3 separate regions of the Homo sapiens genome follow, and regions 1 and 2 are each linked to region 3. Evidence: promoter capture Hi-C in 16 types of primary human blood cells and fetal thymus (Javierre and others, 2016). All regions are on one chromosome and are shown on one strand. Each heading gives the region's core, a stretch centred on a gene start or on the middle of the fragment in contact. The rest is flanking DNA. Distances are from core to core; before and after follow the strand shown. Region 1 holds the start of WDR5B (WD repeat domain 5B). Region 2 holds the start of KPNA1 (karyopherin subunit alpha 1). Region 3 overlaps HACD2 (3-hydroxyacyl-CoA dehydratase 2).

Evidence for each region. Contacts are between HindIII fragments. The CHiCAGO score rates a contact against its expected background, and 5 or more counts as called.
Region 1: a contact is called between the fragment with the promoter of WDR5B here and a fragment that was not itself captured in region 3, in 3 of 17 cell types (non-activated CD4 T cells, total CD8 T cells and naive CD4 T cells). The highest score is 6.9, in non-activated CD4 T cells.
Region 2: a contact is called between the fragment with the promoter of KPNA1 here and a fragment that was not itself captured in region 3, in 1 of 17 cell types (naive CD8 T cells). The highest score is 5.4, in naive CD8 T cells.

Annotation. Positions count from the first base shown.
Region 1 is chr3:122,414,755-122,417,650 of GRCh38, forward strand. WDR5B (WD repeat domain 5B) reads right to left here and starts at 1,308. Exons shown (of 1, transcript NM_019069.4): 1 at 1-1,308. The coding sequence starts at 774. It overlaps WDR5B-DT (WDR5B divergent transcript), which reads left to right and starts at 1,452. Exons shown (of 3, transcript NR_125405.1): 1 at 1,452-1,496. RefSeq lists enhancers at 853-1,052, 1,288-2,105, 1,323-1,562, 1,593-1,642, 1,803-2,002 and 1 more. The HindIII fragment of the contact is 1,055 bases long and covers 902-1,956 here.
Region 2 is chr3:122,513,644-122,516,502 of GRCh38, forward strand. It overlaps KPNA1 (karyopherin subunit alpha 1), which reads right to left and starts at 1,296. Exons shown (of 14, transcript NM_002264.4): 1 at 1,114-1,296. LOC107984000 (a long non-coding RNA gene) reads left to right here and starts at 1,386. Exons shown (of 2, transcript XR_924403.3): 1 at 1,386-1,485. RefSeq lists a silencer at 574-1,263. The HindIII fragment of the contact is 3,104 bases long and covers 1-1,685 here.
Region 3 is chr3:123,577,581-123,580,280 of GRCh38, forward strand. All of the region lies in intron 2 of HACD2 (3-hydroxyacyl-CoA dehydratase 2), which reads right to left. Among named protein-coding and RNA genes, the nearest start is that of HACD2, 6.1 kb to the right of the region's middle. The HindIII fragment of the contact is 5,964 bases long and covers 1-2,700 here.

The sequences.
Region 1 (2,896 bases), core at 58-2,557, 1.2 Mb before region 3:
TATGCAATATTTCTCATTCTTATGACCAGTGTATGTTTTCAGGCACCTGCCTCTGCTATAATCCCATAGTTTAAGAGTGTTGTCCAAAGTTGCAGTGAGAATGTATTTACCATTTGGAGAAAATTTTACAAAAGAGACAGGAGGGTTATCGTCATCAACGAGCGTTTTTAAACACTGACCTGATGCAGCATCCCAGATTCTACAGAGGCCATCATAGCTACCTGACACTATCAAGGACCCACTACAATTAAAATGAACAGCAGAAACTGGGTCAGAATGAGCAGACAAAGTCTTGAGACACTTTCCTGTTTTCACCTCCCATATTTTTACAGTCTCATCAAAAGATCCCGAGATTATAAGGTTGGATGGCGGATTGAAGTTACAACAAAAGACATAATTACTGTGCCCCTTCAGTGTTTTCAAACATTTTCCAGATCTCACATCCCATAATTTTAGAGTTTTATCATCTGAGGCAGAAACAAGACGACTGGAATCTGATGACCAGGCAACATCCGATATTTCCAAATTATGACCATAGAGTGTTTTCTCATATTTTCCATCATATGCTCCCCAAATTATGATTAGCCTATCAGCAGAAGAACTTGCTAGCCATTCTCCATTAGGACTAAACTTAACTGATGACACTGCTTCCGTGTGTCCCACAAGAGTACATTTGAGAGCATAGTTTGGGTTTTCAGGCACTTCCTTGCTCTGATTGGCCGATGAGGAGAGGGCCAACTGTGCTTTGGCGTCTCTTGACTCCTTGGTTGCCATGGCTCTGAAGCTCCAAGTTAGCAGGTGTACTAGGCGTTCAGCCCTGAACCAGGCAGTCCAGTACTTTGGCTTTCTGCCCAGCAAAATGAAGATAAACGCACAGGATTTTAAAATGTACAGTTTTGAAAGCTTAAAGTTTCTGGACAGTCTTTAAACTGTGAGACGGAATCAGCAGCACGGCTTGGACTTCAAGTTTTCATCTTTTTGTTAAGTACTTGAGAAATACTGTTAGAAGGATCCTGTGCGCTGTCAGCAAGTAGGACACAAATGTTCGGCATTCCGTTAATACATAAAGCCTTCAAAGCAGGGGCGACGCGAGGGGCACTCTCTACAGAAAGTATTCTTTCACCGCCGCCCCCCTCCCCAGGTCGAAATGTTTCGGAATGCTGAGCAGCCCTACCAGTCAGGCTAGGTACTTGAAGATGAATGAACCGCCGCTTTTAGCGGATTTCAGAAGCTAAAAGCCTACGAAGCCACCGAAACTGGAAACTCTGGCCTGTCGGCTACTTTTGCTCGTACCAGCAGGTGTGCACTGCCGCGTCAATCTCCAACAAAGCCGGAAAAGCAGCCTGGCGCATGTGCAAAGGAAGTCCCTCCTACCACTACCGAGCCGAGATGACCAATGGGAGACGGCCATCTGCGCCTGCGCAAAAAAGTCGCCAATGTTCATTTCCGGTCTTTTTCGCCCCGCCCTTCAAATGCGAAAGCGACTGCCTTCTTGGGTGAGTGCATTAGCTGGGTAGGGTCTGTCCCGGACCTAACTGGATAGTGTGGGAAGCAGTGGATCGTTGTTTCAAAAACCATTTCTTTTTGGAAATTGTCACAGAGAAGGACTAGATTTGCGGATGCCTACCTTAGCTGCAGGCTTAGGCCCACACCTGACGCGTAAGCTGCCTAAACGGCAGCTAACGTAGATCCACCCAGACGCCGGAAACGGGGGAAGCTCCTGCTTTGCATGGGTTCCGCTCCCTCCTGTTTGTTGTGGTGTGGAGCCAGGTGGCATGTGTGGCGATGGAGTCACGGGGCGGGTGACAGAATTTATGCCAGATTGTAAAATTCCTGGTTTAAGTTTCCCCTGGAAAAGTTTCGTAAAGGTTAAGAAACGTGTCTGTTGAGGTCCTTTAAAAGCCGGTGCTCTGCTGGGAGTAACGAGCAAACGTTTGTTTTAGCATCTACGGCTTAAGCTTCCATAGAGAAGTCGGTATCTCAAAGTTGCTTGAAACAGAAAAGGACAAAGAGGTTGGTGGAATAGGGTAACGGATAAGGTTACTCTTAAGGAGGTTTTAGAGAGCTTTCCCCAGTTTTAGGAGATGATTAATGGTCATGAAAGTGTGTAAAATATACATGCTATTGAAGTTGCAACGAAAGACATAATTACTGTGCCCCTTTAGTGTTTTCAAACATTTTCCAGATCTCACATCCTATAATTTTAGAGTTTTATCATCTGAGGCAGAAACAAGACGACTGGAATCTGATGACCAGGCAGACTTTTAAACAATAGGTTTACCAAAAAACTGGAAGCCCTACTAGTTTCTCCAACCTGTTGTTGCTCAGTAAAGAGTGCCCGAGGCCGAGCACTCACGCCTGTAATCCCAGCACTTTGGGAGGCCCAGTCGGGCGGGACACTTTAGGTCGGGTGTCCGAGACCAGCCTGACCAACATGGCGCAACCAATACTGCTAAAAATACAAAAATTAGCTGCGCGTGATGGCGCACGCCTGTAGTCCCAGCTACTCAGGAGGCTGAGGTGGGAGAATGGCATGAACCAGGAGGTGGAGGGTGCAGTAAGCTGAGATTCCACCAGTGCACTCCAGCCTGGGCAACAGTGAGACTCCGTCTCAAAAAAAAAAAAAAAAAGAGTGCCCAAGAAAAGCAGAAAAAACGTGGCTTAAAAGATTTTACTGGTGGCTGGTCACGATGCAAATGTCTCATCAGCGTCAAGAATTTAAAAGCACTTGGAAACAATGGGTATCCTATTGTATACTTATTAGGGATAATTGAAAGTCTTGGCCTTTATAAGGCACAACAGGCACCGTTAGGTCACCTGTAATAAACCGACTGTAGTTAAAATATCATTACTTTAAGACCCTACCAGTCTAGGGGGAAATTTAAATAAGAATTGG
Region 2 (2,859 bases), core at 46-2,545, 1.1 Mb before region 3:
AAAAAAAAAACAAAACAGGAGGGGGGAAATCACTTCATCTACTAATAGAGATTTTTAAGCAACCGTTTATTTAAGAAAAAAGGGTGAAATTCAAGTTAATATTACTTGACAGTACGTTTCAGAAAAAAAAATACTCTGCAGAGCTGGGTGTGGTTGCCCAAGACTAGTCCCAGCTACTTGGGAAGCTGAGGCAAGAGGACAGTTTGAGCTCAGGAGTTGGAGTACAGCCTGGGCAATATAGCGAGACCCCATCTCTTTAAAATACAAACAAAAACTCGGCAATCGTTTGTTCTGAGTTGAAACCTTAAAAATCAAATATTTTGAACGCTTTCATTTAAAAGTGGAACACGACCCAATCCTAAAACATTACTTCATGACGACTTCCTTGACTCCAGTCATCCTTGTTTCCTCCTCCCGTTTTGAGCTTAATCCGATACCTCGCTGCTTCCCTCGCATCGCACACGCGGCGTGCAGACCAAGTTCTGTCATTGCTATAATTACCACACCCCCGATCAGCCGCTCCAGGCCCATGTTGTTATGACATCGGTAAACTGCAGCCGGCCGTCTCCACCCCCCGCTTCCCCCACCTCCCTCCGGGCCGCCGGCTCCGACCCGGTCTGTAACTTGTGAATTCCCAAGACGGTCCCTTTTTGCCAGGGTTAGAATTTTTACACGCCACCCCTGCTCCTTCCTGCCTCTGTCACAGCGCTCTGCGCGGCCCACCCCCGCCTCCCGCCCGCCGCCCGGCCGCGGCGCAGGCTCCGCGCTCGCCTCCTCTCCGCCCGCTGCCTCGGCGCCCCGCAGTCCCCGGCGCCGCTTACAGCCCCGCCGCCGCGCCACGCCGCCCCGCCCCGCCTAGCCTCGACCGGCGTTCCCGATGGCGATCACACCAGGGCTCCCCACCCCCACCCTCTCCTCCGCCGGCCTTGTGGCCGTTAGGACAGCCGGGCCCGTGACGCACGGACGCGGCGCGAGCGTCCGGCCCAGGAACCCCGGCTCTAGGCCCTGCCGGCACCCGCCCTCGCCCCAGGGCCTCTCCTGAGTCCCTCCGGGACTGCCCGGATCTGCCGGCGGGAGGGGGAGGGGCCGGGGCCGCAAGGCCCCAGCACTCACCAGGCTCAAGGCAACCGATCCCGGTGCCACCGCTGAAGTTAGCCCCTCGCTCGCCCGCCCGCCGTGCCACTCCCGCGCACAACCTCGAAGAGCTGGCCCGCGCCTCGGCGGTGCTCACCAGGCCTCGCTCTCCGCCGCCTCGCACCGAGCAGCGAGACTCAGCTCAGCCGGCGTTCGCAGTGCGCCTGCGTGCGGGGGCCGGCCCGAGCGCCTACGCGCGCCCCTCCGGCGCTTGTCGCAGAGGCTGCCGGGAGACGTAGTCTTGTAACGCTCTCTCGCCGGACATTCCTAATGGTTAGCGCCCAGCCTGTGAAGAGTCGGGGGTCGGGGAGGGGGTCTCGCTAAGAAGGAGGTTTGCAGACCATGGCAAAGGTTGGAGAAAGTTATATGTACAAACCTGTCTTTGCTAAGCTCTTCCAGGGCGGATCGATGCTCACCTCTGTATAGCTTCTAAGTACCTAATACGCGTTGATGGAATGAATGATGGAATGATTGAAGGCTGAGGGAGTATTACAAAATTAGTAGGTCAGCGCCTCGTGTCTAAAGGGCTCACATGCAGCATGAATGCAGGAAGCTTCTGGACATTCCTTTTTTAGTTATCTCCCATCCCCTTTGCTTGATAACGTATGCGTAGTATCAAAAATAATTAAGGGCCGGGCGCGGTGGCTCACACCTGTAATCCCAGCACCTTGGGAGGCCGAGGTGGGTGGATCACTTGAGGCTAGGAGTTTTGAGACTAGCCTGGGCAACATGGCGAAACCCCGTCTCTACTAAAAACACAAAAATTAGCAGGGGGTGGTGACGGGCGCCTGAAGTCCCAGCTACTCGGGAGGCTGAGGTGGGAGAATCACCTGAGCCCGGGGTTGACGGTGAGACTGCAGTGAGCCGAGATCGCGCCACTACACTCCAGCCTGGGCAACCGGAGTGAGACCCTGCCTCAAAAATAATAATAACAATAATAATAATAATAATAATGAAACTACATGAAACACATACTCGTTTTACTCTCAACTGCTCTCAAACGAAAACTTGGAGCAAATGATTGCTAATGTTAAATTTCATGGAATTCTTTGGGGGAGCAAATGGAGTAGTGGCTTCAAAAGAAGAAAAACTGAAGCCAGCCTAGCAGGGATCACGGAATAGTAGACAGATTTAAAACACATGCCAAGAAGCAAGGTGAAAGAGATGAGGTAGATTAATACATTTATAAATGTCCCAGGGAAGAGGAGAGGAGAGAGGACCACTCTACCTGAATCCTAGGTTATGCAATGTTCATTTGTCCTGGACTTCTCTCTGCTGCATCAGCATTCTCCCGCTGATGTTGTGTTTACTAAGATCAGAGTTGAGTTTGAGCAAGGGGGCTGGGGAAAGGGAAGGTGTGTTCAACAGGAGAGACTTAAGGGCAAGTTTGCCTGACCACAGCTAGACTGAAGACAGATCACCTTATTCCAATAAGGAACTAAGACTGATTATTCAGAGCCGGTCTTCAGTCTTTGGGAAAGCTAATTTATTTCCGGTTCACCCTTATTCCTAGCTAGTCCTTGATGGTCCCATCCAAAAGTCTGGGGTATTTACTAGGGCCTCTTCTCTTTGGTGGGCCTTCTAAGCCCCATGAGACAGCCATAAGCTCTTCTCCCTGTTTCAGCCACTGCTTTCAGAGTCAGCAATCACCTTAGCTTTGGAAAAATGATGGCAAATATCAGGCTAACCTCTGGTGGCTTCCTTTTTCTTCCAGACCTTGCACTC
Region 3 (2,700 bases), core at 153-2,652:
ACTGCACTCCAGCCTGGGCGATGGAGTGAGACTCTGTCTCAAAAAAAAAAAAAAAAAAGAAAGTGTCTTTGCTATAATTACAGTCTTATGTTAACCAAAGATATTTAGAAACCCAAATTCTCTCAAACATAATTTTAAACTGCCATAACTGCATTAGTCCACTAATTTTTAATCTAACTATACTTGACAAATATGCAAAGATAACATCTGCCTCATCAATGAATATCATGGACTCCAAAAATGAATAAAGTAGAAAACACCCACAACTCATTACAGAGGAACTCGTTTTTTAAAAACTGACATATAATTCACATGCCACAAAATTCACAATTTTAAACTGTACAATCTAGTGGTTTTTAATATGTTCACAGAGTTGTGCACCCACCACCACTATTTCAAGAACAATATCATCACCTTAAAAGGAAATCCTGTACCATTAGCAGTCACACCCCACTCTCTCTCCCCACAGCCCCTAACAATTCCTCTACTTTCTGTCACTATGGATTTGCCTATTCTGGATATTTCTTATAAATGAAATCATACTATTTGTGACTTTTTGTATCTGCCTCCTTTCACATGCATTTTTTCAAGATTTATCCAGGCATATATCAGTAATTCATTTGCCTTTATTAATTTTATGAATGTTTATATCCATAGACCACATTTTATCCATGAGTAGCATTTTATTTATAGATACTTTTTTTTTTGGAAATGGGGTCTTGCTCTGTCACCCAGGCTGGAGTGCAGTGGCACGATCATGGCTCACTGTAGCCTTGAACTCCTGGGCACAAGTGATCCTCCCACCTCAGTCTCCTGATTAGCTGGGACTACAGGCATGTGCTACCATGCCTGGCCAATTTTTTAATTTTTTGTAGAGATGGGGTCTCGCTATGTTTCCCAGGATGGTCTTGAATTTCTGGCCTCAAGCAATCCCCCCATGTCAGCCTCCTAAAGTGCTGGGATTACAGGTGTGAGCCATGGTACTCAGCCAGGCTTCCTTTTGTACCTTGCTACTACATGCTCCTTTGTACTTGCTTGGTAAATGTTTTTATGTCTTTTAAAAAGCAAAGTGTTATTATTTTCTTAAGAAGATGTGAAATTGGAGAACAAGTAATTTCGATTTCCTTTTTAAGTAAACTCCCACAGAACCTAATAAAGAATAACATTTAGCATAAAGAGATATAAATGAGTAGCTGCCTTCCCTGGATTCATTTTCTCCTCCTGTAAACAGGATATATGTCAACACTAATAATTCCCATCAGGATAACTTATGTGTAATTAAACAATACCACACACATCTAATTATTACACAGTGTAGATGGGGTAGGCAATGAAAAACTCCTCAACCACAGAAATTGTGGTTTTAGCAAGCCTGCTCTATCGCCCAGTCCAAGGGATTACTTCCATCACTGACCTTTGCAACGTTAATTGCCTGCATGTTCCTGGGAGTCTTCACTTCCTTATGCACAGACATTTTCCCAAAATCAAATCCAGGATTTGTCACTTAATTGGTTCTTAGTGGGGATAACAGAGATAAAACCAAAAATCCAAGATATTTTCCTAAATCCCTATTAAAAATTCTATAAGGATAAACAGGCTAATCCTTCAAAGTCTAAGACTTGGTTCCTGAGTGGATTTTAAAGTATGACACTGTTTAATGTCCCTACCTTCCATAAGATATACTTAAATTTTAAAAATTATACTTCTAACATTACCAAGTTTTTTTTTTTTTGAGACAAGGTCTCACTCTGTCATCCAGGCTGGATTGCAGTGATGCAATCATAGTTCGCTGCAGCCTCAAACTCCTGGGTTCAAGCTCAAGCCTCCCATTTCAGCCTCCCAAGTAGCTGGGACTACAGGTACCCACCACCCAGCCCAGCTAAAAAAAAAAAAATTTTTTTTTTGTAGAGATGAGGTCTTGCTATGTTGCTCAAGCTGGTCTCGAACTCTTGCCCTCAAGTGATCCTCCTGCCTTGGCCTCCCAAAGCTCTGGGATTGCTGGGACTATAAGCATGAGCCACTGTGCTCAGCTCTAATATTATGATGTCTTAAAGAGATAGAAACCCCTTTAAATTATTGAAGTATTCCAAATGGGGACAACCCCCTACTATATCAAGTACTGGAAGTCTGATGGTCTTGACTCCAAATTTGCTTCTCTGTAGCTTGTGGGAACTGTACTGGCCAAGGTTCTGAAAGAGAAAGTACTACTTATTTACTAGTGTCCGCTTCCAAAAAAAGTTCAAGCCTCTAAGTTTAAAAAATGGTTCACATTAGGATTTGTTAAAATTTCCTCACACTCAAATTTAGGGTAGTAAGGGACTTTAGAAATCTACTTTAACCTAATTATTTACAAATGAAAAGGAGGTGGATACGAGAGAAAAGACTTGCCCAAATCTATAGAGTCAGTTGGGAAAACTATTATACTTAAAATAAAAAGGTACTCAGGCTTCCAGCTGGAAGCTCATTTCATCATACCACCTACTTAAAATGCCTAAGTTTGGACACTATTGAAATTCCTCTGTGTTGCAGTGAGCCGAGATCCCACCACTGCACTCCTGCCTGGGCAACAGAGTAAGGCCCTGTGTCAAAAAAAAAAAAGAAAAAAGAAAGAAAGAAAAAAAGAAATTCCTCTGCCTTCTAAGAGAAAAAAACAAAAGCAAAATGGATAACTTTCTGATCTAGAACGTGAGAGTGAATCCA